Regions from separate parts of the Homo sapiens genome. Here all the other regions are linked to region 2. The links are contacts of gene promoters, found by promoter capture Hi-C in blood cells and fetal thymus (Javierre and others, 2016). All regions are on one chromosome and are shown on one strand. The core of a region is centred on a gene start or on the middle of the fragment in contact, and the rest is flanking DNA. Distances in the headings are between cores, read along the strand shown.

Region 1 (2,799 bases), core at 65-2,564, 160 kb after region 2:
GCCTTGTGTTTTCATTTGTTTTAATATATTATACCTATCATTAGTTTTTCCCATGTAATCTAATAGTTTCTCAATACACATTTTGTTCATTCAGTCAAAGCTATTAGATAATCCATCAGTTCAATTTTTCCCTGGAGGCTTCCATCTTTTTTTTTTTTTTTTTTTAGATGGAGTCTCACTCTGTCGCCCAGGCTGGAGTGCAGTGGCGAGATTCCGGCTCACTGCAACCTCTGCCTCCCAGGTTCAAGTGATTCTCCTGCCTCAGCCTCCCAAGTAGCTGGGATTACAGGCGCCTGCCACCACGCCCAGCTAATATTGTATTTTTAGTAGAGACAGGGTCTCACCATGTTAGCCAGGCTGATCTGGAACTCCTGACCTCAGGTGATCGCTCGCCTTAGCCTCTCAAAGTGCTGGGATTACAGGCGTGAGCCACCACGCTTGGTGGAACCTTCCATTCTTTTGCTCTGGTCTGCACCGCCGGCTATCTCAGCCTGTGCACAGCTGTCATCCTGGGACTTCTCTGCATCCTCAAAATTCCCTTTACCTGTCTCTGTGTTGAATCTGTTTCCTGGATACTTTACTCCTTTGTTTTATTTACCTGTTTATTGAGACAAGGCCTTGCTCTGTTGCTCAGGTTGGAGTATAGTGAGGTAATCATGGCTCACTGCAGCCTCAAACTCCTTGGCTCAAGCGATCCTATCGAAGTGCTGGGATTATAGGTGTGAACCACCGTACCCAGCCAACAATAAATTCTTGAATTAAGACCAGGTCCATGCCTGTAATCCCAACGCCACTGCACTCCAGCCTGGGTGACAGCGACACTCCTTCTCAAAAAAACAAACAAACAAAAAAGTAGCCGTGTGTGGTGGTAAGCACCTGTAATCCCAGCTACTCAGGAGACTGAGGCACGAGAATCGCGTGAACCCGGGAGGTGGAGATTGCAGTGAGCTGAGACCACATCACTGCACTCCAGCCTGGGCAACAGAACAAAACTCAGTCTAAAAGAAAAAAAAAAACGGAAAAATGGTAATTAAAATGTTCTTTTTTTTTGAGACAGAGTCTCACTCTGTCACTCAGGCTGGAGTGCAGTGGTGTGGTCTCAGCTCACTGCAATCTCCACCTCCTGGGTTCAAGTGATTCTCGTGCCTCAGCCTCCTGAGTAGCTGGGATTACAGGTGCACACCACCACATGCGGCTAACTTTTTTTTTCTTTTTTTTTTTTTTTGAGAAGGAGTCTCACCCTATCATCCAGGCTGGAGTGCAGTGGAGCTATCTCGGCTCACTGCAACCTCTGCCTCCTGGGCTCAGGCGATTCTCCTGCCTCAGCCTCCTGAGTAGCTGGGATTACAGGCATGCACCACCATGCCCAGCTAATATTTTGTATTTTTAGTAGAGACAGGGTTCCACCATGTTGGCCAGGATTGTCTCAAACTCCTGACCTCAGGTGATCTGCCCGCCTCAGCCTCCCAAAGTGCTGGGATTACAGGTGTGAGCCACCATGCCCAGCCCTAATTTTGTATATATTTTTTTGTCTTTGTATGAGATTTTATTAAAGGTCTTTACAGAGCAACATCCAGACTCCAGAATACAGCTGCTAAGGAGACCCTGTTATGCTGTAGGGACTGGCTGGGGCATGGCAGATGGCTCTGGCTTCCCACCCTTCTGTTCTGAGATGGGGGTGGTGGGCAGTATCTCATCTTTGGGTTCCACGATGCTCACGTGGTCAGGCAGGGGCTTCTTAGGGCCAGTCTTACCAGTTGGGTCCCAGGGCAGCATGATCTTCACCTTGATGCCCAGCACACCCTGTCTGAGCAACACGTGGCACACAGCAGTGCCAACGTAGTAGTTAATAGGGTCTCCACTGTGGATCGTCAGGCCATCCACAAACTTCATGGATTTAGCCCTCTGTCCTCGGAGTTTCCCAGACGCCATGACCTTGCAGCCTTTGGCCCCACTCTCCATGATGAACCGCAGCACACCATAGCAGGCCCTCCACACAGCAAGCCCTCCTAGGAGTTTGTAACGCAGAGACTCTGCCTGGGCAATGGCACACAGACCTCTAGTGGCAACCTTTTCAGCATAAAGCTCTACACTGCCCTCTGGAAAGCCAAACCTCTTCTGAACTATAGCAGTCAGTTCCCGAATCCGTCAGCCCTTCTCACCAGGAATATTCTGTGTTCTGGTGGCTAAGATAATGATTTCTGTCCTGGTTGGTGTAACTTGCATCTCAACTCCAGAGTAGCCATCTTCAGCCAGCTCCTGAGTAAGAAACTCATTCAGTTCAGCTTTGAAGATGTCATCAGTGACAAACATCCTCTTCTTGGAAATTTGCACAGCCATCTTGCCGCCACGCTCCACTGAAAGGAAAGGCCTAATTTTGTATTTTTAATAGACACAGGGTTTCACCACATTGGCCAGTCTGGTATCAAACTCCTGGGCTTAAGTTATCCTCTGCCAACCTTGGCCTCCCAAAGTGCTGGGATTACAGGTGTGAGTCACATCACACCCAGCCTTTTTTTTTTTTTTTTGGAGGCAAGGTCTTGCTCTGTCTTCCTGGCTGGAGTGCAGTGGTGTGATCATAGCTCACTGCAGCCTCGAACTGGGCACAAGTGATCCTCCCACCTCAGTCTCCCGAGTAGCTGGGACTACAGGCACACACCACCACCCTTGGCTGATAATTTAAAATTTTTTGTCGAGATGGGATCTTGCTATGTTGCCCAGCTGGTCCCAAATTCCTGGCATCAAGCAATCCATCTGCCTTGGCCTCCCAAAGGGCTGGGATTACAGGCATGAGCCACC
Region 2 (2,700 bases), core at 107-2,606:
AGGCGGCTGCACTTTGCCCTGACACAGATGGGGGTAGGAAGATCCAGAGGCTGGAGACTGCCTGGTCTCCCCCACCCCCACCCCTGCTAATTCCTCCCTAATTACCTGTGGGAGTCCGGGGGATGGGGCGGGTGGGGGGCCTGTGGACTGTGGAGCTTTGTTCATTTCATTTGGTGCCACATCAGGGTCCCCCCAGCACCTGTTGGGAAAGAGTGGCGCTCAGGAAGAGGAAGGGACCCAAGCTTAAGGCAAATGGGGCGGTGAAAGGGTTGATGCAAGGGCTGGGTCCCATACGGAGTCCCAGAGATGCCAAGAGGGTGAAGCAGAAAAGATACAGCCTGTCCCCACCAACATGCTGTCAAACCCGCATCACTTCCAACCAACCCCTGACCTACTGAAACAGACCCCTCACTCACCCCCTCGATTAAGAACAAGTCCACGGTGCGGCCTACAGGTTCTGGGCATCCGAGGGCCTGGGGTTGGGAGGTGAGGGTATCAACCTGGCTCCGCGGGGCCCCAGACCAACCAGACCGGAAATTCCAGGTCTCGCTGGCACCAGGCTCCCGGATCACGAACGGAGCTAGCTGCTTCGGCCGTGGCGTCCCCACCCCCCACCCGGGGACACCGGGTTCGGGCCTGGCCCAGGGGCACACAGGATACGCCTGCCGCCGGGGAACCCGCACTGGGCCAGAAGCTAGGCCTGCCGCCGCCCAGGAGTGTAGGCCAGGAAGGGCGGGAGTCAGGCCCTAAAAGGCCAGGCGGGCGGCGGCCGTCGAGGAGCCGGTTTCAGGCAAGTGAGGGTCGGCCCGGAGGGCGGGCGGGGCCGGGGGCTCCTCCCTGCCCGCCGCCACCGCCTCCCTCCCCTGCGCCCTCCCTGCGCAGCGCGGGCCAGTGCCAAAGAACAACGTGTCACTTCCCGGCGGCCTGGCCGCGAAGGGGGGAGGGGGCGGCGGGCCGGGAGCCGTGGTGCCTGCGCCCGTGGGCTGCCGGGCCTCCTCGGGTCAGGCCGAGGTGGCATTTCGCGGCGACGAACCCGGCGCCCTACCAGCCCGCGGGGCCCGCATAGTCCGGCCCTGCGCTCCCCACCCCCACCCAGCAGCCAGGCCCGGCCGGGCCAGGCACACGTGGGCCGGGGATCGGGACCCTGGCGGGCCGGGGCCCTGGGTCGGGCCGCGGGGCCAGGGCGCCGGGGCGGCGGCGCAGGGTGGCCGGTCCCGGCCCGGATGGCGGCGGATGCGGGGGGAGGGGGTGGGGGGGCCGGGTCGGGCCCGGACATGGCGGCTTTACCTTCAGTCTCCTTCAGTCCGCGCGGCCGAGCCCCACGCAGCCGCACAGACGTAGTCCACAACCATTTCCGGCTCCCCGCACAGATCCCGCTCGGCGGCCACCGCTTCTCCGCAGGCGCAGCCGGCGCCCCCACGTGACCGGCGCAGGGGGCGGAGCCGCGCCGGGCGATCTGCGCCGCCGAGCACATGGGATTTGCCCCCGCCCCGTCACGTGACAGCCACAGCCCGCCCCCGTGTCCCCTCCCGAACTTTGAAACTCCCAGACCGATTCCCCTCTGTGTTTCTCTCTGTTCCGCGATTCTTTAGTTCATTCATATTTTAAGCAACCATTTATTGAGTGCATGCTAAGTACAAGGCGAAGTGCTGGTTGAGGGCTGAGAAACTGAAATCAAAGTCTCGGCAAAAAAAAAAAAAAAATAAGCGGGGCGCGGTGGCTCACACCTTAATCCCAGTACTTTGGGAGGCCGAGGTGGGCGGATCACGAGGTCAAGAGATCGAGACCATCCTGGCCAACATGGTGAAACCCCGTCTTTACTAAAAATACAAAAATTAGCCGGGCGTGGTGGCGCACCCGTAGTCCCAGCTACTTGGGAGGCTGAGGCAGGAGAATTGTTTGAGCCCGGGAGGCAGAGGTTGCAGTGAGCGGAGATTGTGCCACTGCACTCTAGCCTAGCCTGGCGACAGGGCGAGACTCCATCTCAAAAAAAAAAAAGAAAGAAATTAAAGACTCCGTCCTGCCTAAGTAAATCGTGATACAATACGAATTATGCAGGCTTTGAAAATAATTTAGATTAGGTCATTGAAAGGCCAATAACAAAGGAAATTAAAAGGATAGAAACATTCTAATTAGGCAAGTAGTATGAGATTTGTAGTTTAAAAAGATCATGGGCCGGGCGCAGTGGCTCACGCCTGTAATCCCAGCACTTTGGGAGGCCGAGGCGGGCGGATCACGGGGTCAGGAGATCTAGACCATCCTGGCCAACATGGTGAAACCCCGTCTCTACTAAAATACAAAAAATTAGCTGGGCCTGGTGGCGCACGCCTGTAGTCCTAGCTACTCGGTAGGCAGAGGCAGAGAATTGCTTGAACCCGGGAGGCGGAGGTTGCAGTGAGCCGAAATTACGCCACTGCACTCTAGCCTGGCGACAGGGTGAGACTCCATCTCAAAAAAAAAAAAAAAGAAAGAAAAAAAGAAATTAAAGACTCAGTCCTGCCTAAGTAAATCGTGATACAACACGAATTATGCAGGCTTTGAAAAGAATTTAGATTAGGTCCTTGAAAGGCCTATAACAAAGGAAATTAAAAGGATAGAAACATTCTAACTAGGCAAGTAGTATGAGATTTGTCGTTTAAAAAGTTAGAAACATTCTAACTAGGCAAGTAGTATGAGATTTGTCGTTTAAAAGGATCATGG
Region 3 (2,700 bases), core at 184-2,683, 140 kb after region 2:
GTCCAGTAGGTAATACCAATACAGATCTAAAGTCTGGGGGAAGTTGGGGGTTGGAGCTATGTATTTGGGAATCACCAGCATATCAGCAGCAATTGAGGACATCAGGATGAATGACTCCATTTTGGGAGTAAATAGAAAGGAAAGAGAAGTGAATCAAAGATGGAACGATGGAAGCACTGATACTGACAGGCATGAGCAATCGTTGAGAAATTCTCAAGAGAGTCGGACAAGACAGAGTCAGAGAGAGAAGTACATGAAACAGCCCTGTAGTGGTGGCTAGAAGCCATGGACTGGGTTGGGAACAATTCTAGAGCTCCCAGAAGGCAGGCAAGATTGAGTCACACTTCCAACAAAGCCCTCTGCACACCAAAACCCCAGGAAGTATTGTTTTTCTTTGTTAGTTTGCTTTTGAGACAGAATCTCACTCTGTCACCCAGGCTGGAGTGCGATCTCAACTCACTGCAACCTCCGCTTGCTTCCTGGATTCAAGCGATTCTTGTGCCTCAGCCTCCTGAGTAGCTGAGATTACAGGCAGGTGCCAAAACACCCATCTAATTTTTGTATTTTTAGTAGAGACAGGGTTTTGCTATGTTGGCCAGGCTGGTCTCGAACTCCCGACCTCAAGTGATCCACCTGTCTCAGCCTCCCAAAGTGCTGGGATTACAGACGTGAGCCACCGCACCCGTCCAAGGAAGTATTGTTAATTGAAATAAATGCCAAAATGTTCCTACCTTGGTTTACCCCAAAACCTGGAGCTAAGAACTTCATCTCACTTTTGACACCCCAGCCCCCAAAATATGGAAGCCCAGGAGAGCCAGGAGAATTTATAGCAGAGGCTTAAAGAGAAAGTTATGATTTGTTTAAAGTAGAGAATAAGGTGAAAAATAAAACCTGGTACTCTGTCTGGAAGTCCTGGAAGTCTCCTTGCCCAACCTCAACTGGCCTGTGGGCTCCTGTGTCCTTGCTCTGGGATGCCATGGTGAATGTGAAAACAGGGGAGGTTGTGTGTGGGGGTGGGAATGGCCTGTCGGTTGCAAGGCGAGTCCTTTGCTGAGCCCAGCCTGAGACCCAGCTTATGGGCTTTATCCAGGTGAGAAAATGCTGGGGACATGTGTGCGAGGTTTAAGGTCTACCAGGAAGGGGAGAAGGGTGTCAGGGGACCAGCCCCACAACCTAGGAGAGGATTAGGAGGGTCCAGCCCTTTGGGCAGGGACCAGCCCTGAGGCTTAAATGAACTTGCATAGGCACCTGTGTATGCATCTCTGTGCATGTATGCATACATGAGTGAGAGAGAAAGATAAAGAGAGCTAAAGAGGCCCCCCTCCCCCCGCCGCAGGCTGCCACACGTGGTGCGATCCGATTCTCTCTGGAAAGGAGGAGAGTCTCTCATGCATGGGTGAAGTTGGGCCCTCCCCAGAAGCCTAGTGACTCATTATGTTAACGTGTGGGTGTGGGGGCTGGACATCCTTGGGAAGCCCTGAGGGGCTGCTGAAGCAGGGTTCCTGGTCTCCTCGGAGGCTGGGCCTCCCCTCGCTGGGGGCTCACAGAAAGTCAAACAGCCCGAAATTCTTGGCTGCTCCAGGCCCAGGGTAAATTGGGGGAGGAAAAAAGAAAGAAAAGAAATGTTTCAGGCCTGGAGGTGAGATGAGCCTGCTGGTTAGTAGGGTTAGGGGTCTGAAGGAACCAGCACGCAGGGCAGGCATGGGGCAGGGGTAGAGCAGAGATGCTCCCTGGAAGCCACCAGCTGCTCAGGCAACTGAGGGGGCCCTCTGGGCCTCTGATCTAGGCACAGGCAGGGATGGCATGGATGGCTATTGGAGGCGACTACAGCTTTAGGTTGCAGGACTGAGGCAGCAGGCAGGGGGATGGTTAGTAGGGGCAGATGAAGCAAATATATTTTGGTTTCAGTAATGTGGGGTAAAGTCAAGAGGTTTGCACACGTGCCTGATGGGGTGGGGTTAATAGAGGGATGATGTAGCTGAATAAATGGTGAAAGGGAGCTAAAGGGGAAACGAGAGAATGAGGGAGTGAGCGTGCCACCAAGGTCATTGCTGGGGTCAACTCCCAAAATGGGGGTTGCAGAGGGGAGTAAGGGGTAGCACCAACAAGTCTGGTCCCAGAGACAAAAGGGGTCCTGGGAAGTCCTGCGCAGGGATTAGTGGGCAGAGGAAACGAACTGGGGCCAGAGGCAGGTTAGGGGGCTGCAGAGCCAATCGGTAGGTGCACCCCACCCTCGCAGCACCCTGCGAGCAGTTAGCGCACCTGGATTTAGTTCCTTTTATTTCCCTTTCAGGTACCAGACAAAGTAAAAAAGACGGACGGATGGAGAGAGGAACGCAGCCGGCTGGGGTGGGAGCGGAATGGAGCTGGGGGAGGGGCCCTGCTCACATCACATCCACAAAGAACTCACTGGGGTTTCCCATGGCCATGCGGAAGGACTGTCTGCTGGCGGTCAGTTCCGGGGGCACTGAGGCCAGGTCGCGGCCCGGAGGGGCTCCTGGGGGCCCCATGGCCGCGGGCGGCGGGGGCATCATCAGCATGGGGGGGCCGTAGAGAGGGGGCACTCCGGGAGGACCGTAGCTCGGGTGTGTGTGGTGGCTGCGAAGGCTGCTGGCCAGGGAATGGTGGCTGCGGTGGCTGTGCTCGCTGGCCGCCGGCCCTGAGCGCTCGCTGGGCGCCCGCTCCCGCGGCCCCCGCAGG
Region 4 (2,700 bases), core at 111-2,610, 230 kb before region 2:
TTCTATGGGTTCCTGTCCAACCAGCCAAAGCGGGGAGGAAAAGCCTGAACTTGGGGTACAGATGGGTCAGCTCCACATGTATGTGCAAACTAAAAATGATGGCAGCCTCACTCAGGGGTGGATTGGAAAAAATTATTGGAAATCATTTTGGAATTTTCCAATAGTTTTGGAATTATTTTGGAATAATTTTCCAATAATTTTGGAAACTATTTCTCCAAAATTATTGGAGAAAATCCTCCAATAAATAGGCGGAGTTTCAGATGGTGCAGCTAATCATCCCCTTTGTGTGGAAAGAGAAGGGTCCCAAAGTTAAGATATGTACAACTCATGGGTAGTGGCTGATGGCTCAGCTGAGTGGTTGGAGGCTGGGACCTGAAGGAAAAAGGCTGGAAGATGAGGAGCAGCAGGTCTGGGCTGGAGGATGTGTCTGGACATTTGGGAGTGGGCCCAAGTGTGAAGGTCTTTGTAGCGCATGTTCACAGCTGCCAGAGAGCATCCACTGCGGACAGGCACTGAACAACCAACTAGACAAAATGACCTGGTCAACCTCCATCAGCCTTCCTTTGCCATTGGACAGCCCATTGCCGGCATGATGGGCACAGTGGCCACGGTGCAGAGATGGAGGCTACTCGAGACCCAGCAGCTTGATTCCTCCTCACCAAGCCCCATCTAGGTGGATCTAGATACTTCCCTTAAATTCCAACCTGCTCGGATGCCAGTGAAGACAGGGCGCCTTGTAAGAGTCACCAGCAGGGGGCGGTGGCAGAACAGGTACAACCTTTGGCAGCAAAGGACTCACCTGTGGAGAAACTCCAGCGGAGGGAGGACGCATGTTTCCCTTTTCCTTGTTACAGAGTAGAGCCATGGAAACTTCAGGAACTGGGGAGAATCCCAGTTCTACCCAGGGTGGGCCAAGTAAAGAAGGCTCTTGATACGTTCAAGAGTAGGTTAAAAAGCTTGACTAATGCTGAACTGAGGGGCTAGAGGAAAAGGTGATTTCTATTTTCTTTTTTATTTAAAAACCCATTATATTGTATTAGAGTTTTAAGGTCTTTCTTTCTTTCTCTTTCTTCTTTCTTTCTTTCTTTCTCTCTCTCTTTCTCTTTCTTTCTTCTTTCTTTCTTTCTTTTTCTTTCTTTCCTTTTAGACGGAGTTTTGCTCTTTTTGCCCAGGCTGGAGTGCAATGGCGCAATCTCGGCTCACTGCAACCTCTACCTCCCTGGTTCAAGCAATTCTCCTGCCTCAGCCTCCCAAGTAGCTGAGATTACCGGCGCCTGCCACCATGCCCAGCTAATTTTGTAGTTTTAGTGAGACAGGGTTTCACCATGTTGGCCAGGCTGGTCTCGAACTCCTGACCTCAGGTGATCCACCTGCCTCGGCCTCCCAAAGTGCTGGGATTACAGGTGTGAGTCACCGCGCCTGGCCAGGGTTTCAAGGTTTTCAAAGCACCCTCAGGTAGTTTTTTTGTTTTTTTGTTTTTTTTTTTTTTTTGTAGTGAAGCTGCAAAACAATCTTGAGAAGTGGATATTATCATCCTCAAGAAAATACAGGCTCAGACACGTTAGCCAACTTGTTTCAGGTCACAGCTGGACAGAGAGGCTGGACCTGAACCCGGGCCCTTCCAAGTCAAATGACTTGGATTCAGACTCAATTTTGCCACCGCTGGATTTTTGGTCCTAAGAGAGAGCCTCGGCTTTCTCTGGACCTTGGTTTCCCTCCCACTGAGGGAGAACAGCAACCTTAGTCATCAGTCCTTAAGCTTTGGCCTTACCACACCTGTGCAACCGGTGGGGGCGCTGGAGCCTGCTGGTACCAGGCTGCCCCAGAGCCCCTTGTTGAACGTTCACAGCACCCCACTGCGTGCAGGCCAAGGTGGAAAATGGTTGACATACTTTTGAACCAAGAAATAGATGTATCGTGTACAAAATTTAAAAAAACAAATGTCCCTCCCTGTCTTGCCCGTGGTAAGCCTTTCCCCTCCCAGGAGGCCACTGCTGTTACCAGTTGTCTTGTGTGATCCGTGTTCATATCAAACAGCGAGCTCTGCTGGGCCAGGCGGTTCCCCTGCGGCCACAGGCGTCCCAGGATGTGCCAGGTTCAGGTTCAGCTGCCATGAAGCACTTCTCTATGGTAGGCTCTTACACCGATATTGCCACTATTTTTTTTTTTCTCTTTTGAGACAGAGATTCGCTCTTGTTGCCCAGGCTGGAGTGCAATGGCACAATCTTGGCTCACCGCAAACTCCGCCTCCCAGGTTCGAGCGATTCTCCTGCCTCAGCCTCCTGAGTAGCTGGGATTACAGGCATGCGCCACCACACCCAGCTAATTTTGTATTTTTAGTAGAGACGGGGTTTCTCCATGTTGGTCAGGCTGGTTTCGAACTCCCGACCTCAGGTGATCCACCCACCTCGGCCTCCCAAAGTGCCGGGATTACAGGCGTGAGCCACCTCGCCTGGCCCTGCCTCTTTTAATTCTAAACAAAAACACAAAACCTGTAAGGTAGCATTAAGACTCCTAGTTTGGCTAAAGTCACCCAATAAGACAATGATTCCACCTGGGCCCAGCTCTAGGTCCTGTAACGCCTTTGCCTGAACCACTGCTCCAAAGCCACCTGCAAAATCAGCCTATGCATGCCCCCACATCTCCCACCCACAAGCAGCAGCGGCACTGCTGGAGCCACCACAGCTCTTGAGTTTGCCA
Region 5 (2,800 bases), core at 156-2,655, 210 kb before region 2:
TGTAGTCACGTTAGAAAGCTGAGGCAGGAGGATCACTTAAGCCTAGGAGTTTGAGGCTGTAGTGCACCATGATGGCGCCTGTGAATAGCCACTGCACTTCAGCCTGGGTAACACAGCAAGATCCCCATCTCTTAAAAAAAAAGTACAAAGCGTACAAATGGAACTCAGCTGCCCACCTGCCCACCTCAGGTTATCGGCTCCCCCACCAGCAGGCTTCCGCTGCTTACAGGTTCTTGTGTAGCCTTCCAGAAATATTGTAGTCTCCTACAATTATGCATATGATTATATTCTCTCCAAATCTATCCCATCCATTTTTTTGACACCAATTAAAGTATAAAATACAGTTCAGCACTTTGCTTTTCCCTTTGTAATCTTCCCATGTTAGTGCATAAAGTTTAGCTCATTTTAAAAATAACTACACAGTTCATTTTCCAGTTCCCTGTTAACTTGTGTCCAGTCTTTTGCAATAACAAACAACACTGCAATCATCATTCTTATACATACAGCTTTACAACAATGGGAGCATCCCTATAGGAATGGGCAGAGAATAAATGCATGTGTAATTTTGATAGACTGCCAAATCGCTCTCTAAAAAGATTGCAACAATTTACAATTCCAACAAACGCATGAGAATTGCCTATCTGCATTGCCCTCATTCACGCTAACACTTTATATTATCAAATTTTAAAATGAAGAACTTATTTTTTCTTTAATATGCATTTTCTTAATTATGGTTGAAATAGAACCCATCTTTTTGTATGTCTTTAAGCCATTTATACATCTTTTCTTGCTGTATGCTGATTTTCTTTTGGGCTGTATTTATTCCTATGTTGATAGTAAGAGCTAACTATATATTGAGGAAATTAGCTATTTATATAACATATGAGTTGCCGTATTTTTTCTAACTTTTCATTTTTTTTTACTTTTTTTGTTTTTTCCATACAGAATTTTGCTTTAATGTATTTGCACATGTTCTATTTTTCCTTTTTTGTCTTCTGAGTTTTGTCCTTTACTTAGAAAGGCTTTCCCCACTCCAAGAGTTCTATTTTTAAAATTGTTTCATCTTTTATTATAGTACTTTACATGCATTTTTATTGTGAAATGTACATTTTTTTAAAGTTAGCATACCAGTTCTATAAAAATCTTTGTTGGGAATTTTGATTAAAACAGTAACTTCATAGAACTTGAGGATAAGCGGTAAAAAAATAATAATAATAAAAAAGAAAAAGAAAAAAAAAACCCAGTAACTTCAGGGCCAGGCACGGTAGCTCACACCTATAATCCCAGCACTTTGGGAGGCCGAGGCAGAAGGATCATTTGAGGCCAGGAGTTCAAGGCCAGTCTGTGCAACATAGCAAGGCCCCATCTCTACAAAAATTAAAAAAAAAAAAAAACTTAGCCTGGCTTGGTGGCGTTCACCTGTAGTCCCAGCTGCTCCAGAGGCTGAGGTGGGAGGGTGGCTTGAGCCCAGGAGTTTAAGGCTGCAGTGAGCCATGCTCACGCCACTGCACTCTAGTCTGGGTGACAGGGTGAGATGCTATCTCAAAAACAAACAAACCAAAAAACCAGTAACTTCATAGACTAATTTGGGGAAGTAGACAACTTTATGATATTGAGTCTTCCTATTGATAAACATGGTATATATCTCTATATAGAAAACTAGGATTTTATACATACGCATATATATATACACACATATATATGGCTTATGATAAATATAAAGTGAACAGTTGTGTAACTACAACCCAGGTAGAGAAATAAAATATTGTCGGGCCGGGCGCGGTGGCTCACGCCTGTAATCCCAGCATTTTGGGAGGCCAAGGCAGGCGGATTGCGAGGTCAGGAGATCGAGACCATCCTGGCTAACACGGTGAAACCCCGTCTCTACTAAAAATACAAAAAAAATTAGCCGGGCATGGTGGCGGGCGCCTGTAGTCTCAGCTACTCAGGAGGCTGAGGCAGGAGAATGGCGTGAACCCAGGAGGTGGAGGTTGTGGTGAGCCGAGATCGCGCCACTGAACTCCAGCCTGGGCGACAGAGCGAGACTCCGTCTCAAAAAAAAAAAAAAACCATTGTCAACACCTTAGAACTGCTCCTCCTGCTCCATTGTGCCCCTTATAGACAATAATCTCCCTCCCCACCAGGGAGGGATTTCTAATTTCTGAAATGCCTGATTTCTGTAATAAACAGTATATGTATATCTCTAAACAATATATCTTAGTTTAAAAAAATATATTATTCAAATAGAATGAGGCTGGGTGTGGTGGCTCACGTCTGTAATCCCAGCACTTTGGGAGGCCGAGGCCGGCAGATCACCTGAGGTCAGGAGTTAGAGACCAGCCTGGCCAACATGGTGAAACCCCGTCTCTACTAAAAATACAAAAATTAGCCAGGCATGGTGGTGCACACTTGTAGTCCCAGCTGCTTGGGAGGCTGAGGCCCGAGAATAGCTTGAACCCAGGAGGCAGAGACTTCAGTGAGCTAAGATCGCACCACTGCACTCCAGCCTGGGCAACAGAACGAGATCCGTCTCAAAAAAAAAAAAAAAAAAAAGAATGAGATGATGCTGTATTTGTTTTAATCCTTTGCTCCTTTCTCTCTGTATTATGTTTGTGGGATTATTTCCTGTTGTTACACGTGGCAATAATAGTGAGCTACAAATCAGTGCTATATTTGGTATATCAACCTTGGAGCCAGCATTCTTGTTAAATCCATTCATTAAATTAAACATATTATCTTTAGATTGTTCTAGAATGTTTACATACACAGTCACACTGCCTACAGCTAATGATAGTTTTAT

Evidence for each region. The method cuts DNA at HindIII sites, captures the fragments that hold promoters and counts their contacts. A CHiCAGO score of 5 or more calls a contact.
Region 1: a fragment that was not itself captured here is called in contact with the fragment with the promoter of EIF4G1 in region 2 in 3 of 17 cell types (M1 macrophages, endothelial precursors and total CD8 T cells); the score reaches 5.5 in M1 macrophages.
Region 3: a fragment that was not itself captured here is called in contact with the fragment with the promoter of EIF4G1 in region 2 in 11 of 17 cell types (total CD8 T cells, naive CD4 T cells, naive CD8 T cells and 8 more); the score reaches 9.1 in total CD8 T cells.
Region 4: a contact is called between a fragment that was not itself captured here and the fragment with the promoter of EIF4G1 in region 2, in 2 of 17 cell types (endothelial precursors and naive B cells). The highest score is 5.9, in endothelial precursors.
Region 5: a contact is called between a fragment that was not itself captured here and the fragment with the promoter of EIF4G1 in region 2, in 1 of 17 cell types (naive B cells). The highest score is 5.9, in naive B cells.

The regions. Positions count from the first base shown.
Region 1 is chr3:184,149,245-184,152,043 of GRCh38, reverse strand. It overlaps the pseudogene RPS3P3. Among named protein-coding and RNA genes, the nearest start is that of DVL3, 4.7 kb to the left of the region's middle. The HindIII fragment of the contact is 3,986 bases long and covers 1-2,799 here.
Region 2 is chr3:184,313,262-184,315,961 of GRCh38, reverse strand. EIF4G1 (eukaryotic translation initiation factor 4 gamma 1) reads right to left here and starts at 1,356. Exons shown (of 33, transcript NM_198241.3): 1 at 1,288-1,356; 2 at 417-473; 3 at 106-199. The coding sequence starts at 165. RefSeq lists enhancers at 87-708, 1,433-1,933 and silencers at 546-1,255, 1,276-1,605. The HindIII fragment of the contact is 4,143 bases long and covers 245-2,700 here.
Region 3 is chr3:184,170,440-184,173,139 of GRCh38, reverse strand. DVL3 (dishevelled segment polarity protein 3) reads right to left here. Exons shown (of 15, transcript NM_004423.4): 15 at 1-2,700. The coding sequence ends at 2,385. Among named protein-coding and RNA genes, the nearest start is that of AP2M1, 3.1 kb to the left of the region's middle. RefSeq lists an enhancer at 1,305-1,599. The HindIII fragment of the contact is 3,938 bases long and covers 1-2,700 here.
Region 4 is chr3:184,539,330-184,542,029 of GRCh38, reverse strand. The region is part of intron 6 of LINC01839 (long intergenic non-protein coding RNA 1839); the gene reads right to left. Among named protein-coding and RNA genes, the nearest start is that of LINC01840, 16 kb to the left of the region's middle. The HindIII fragment of the contact is 803 bases long and covers 959-1,761 here.
Region 5 is chr3:184,519,825-184,522,624 of GRCh38, reverse strand. The region is part of intron 6 of LINC01839 (long intergenic non-protein coding RNA 1839); the gene reads right to left. Among named protein-coding and RNA genes, the nearest start is that of LINC01840, 36 kb to the left of the region's middle. The HindIII fragment of the contact is 7,583 bases long and covers 1-2,800 here.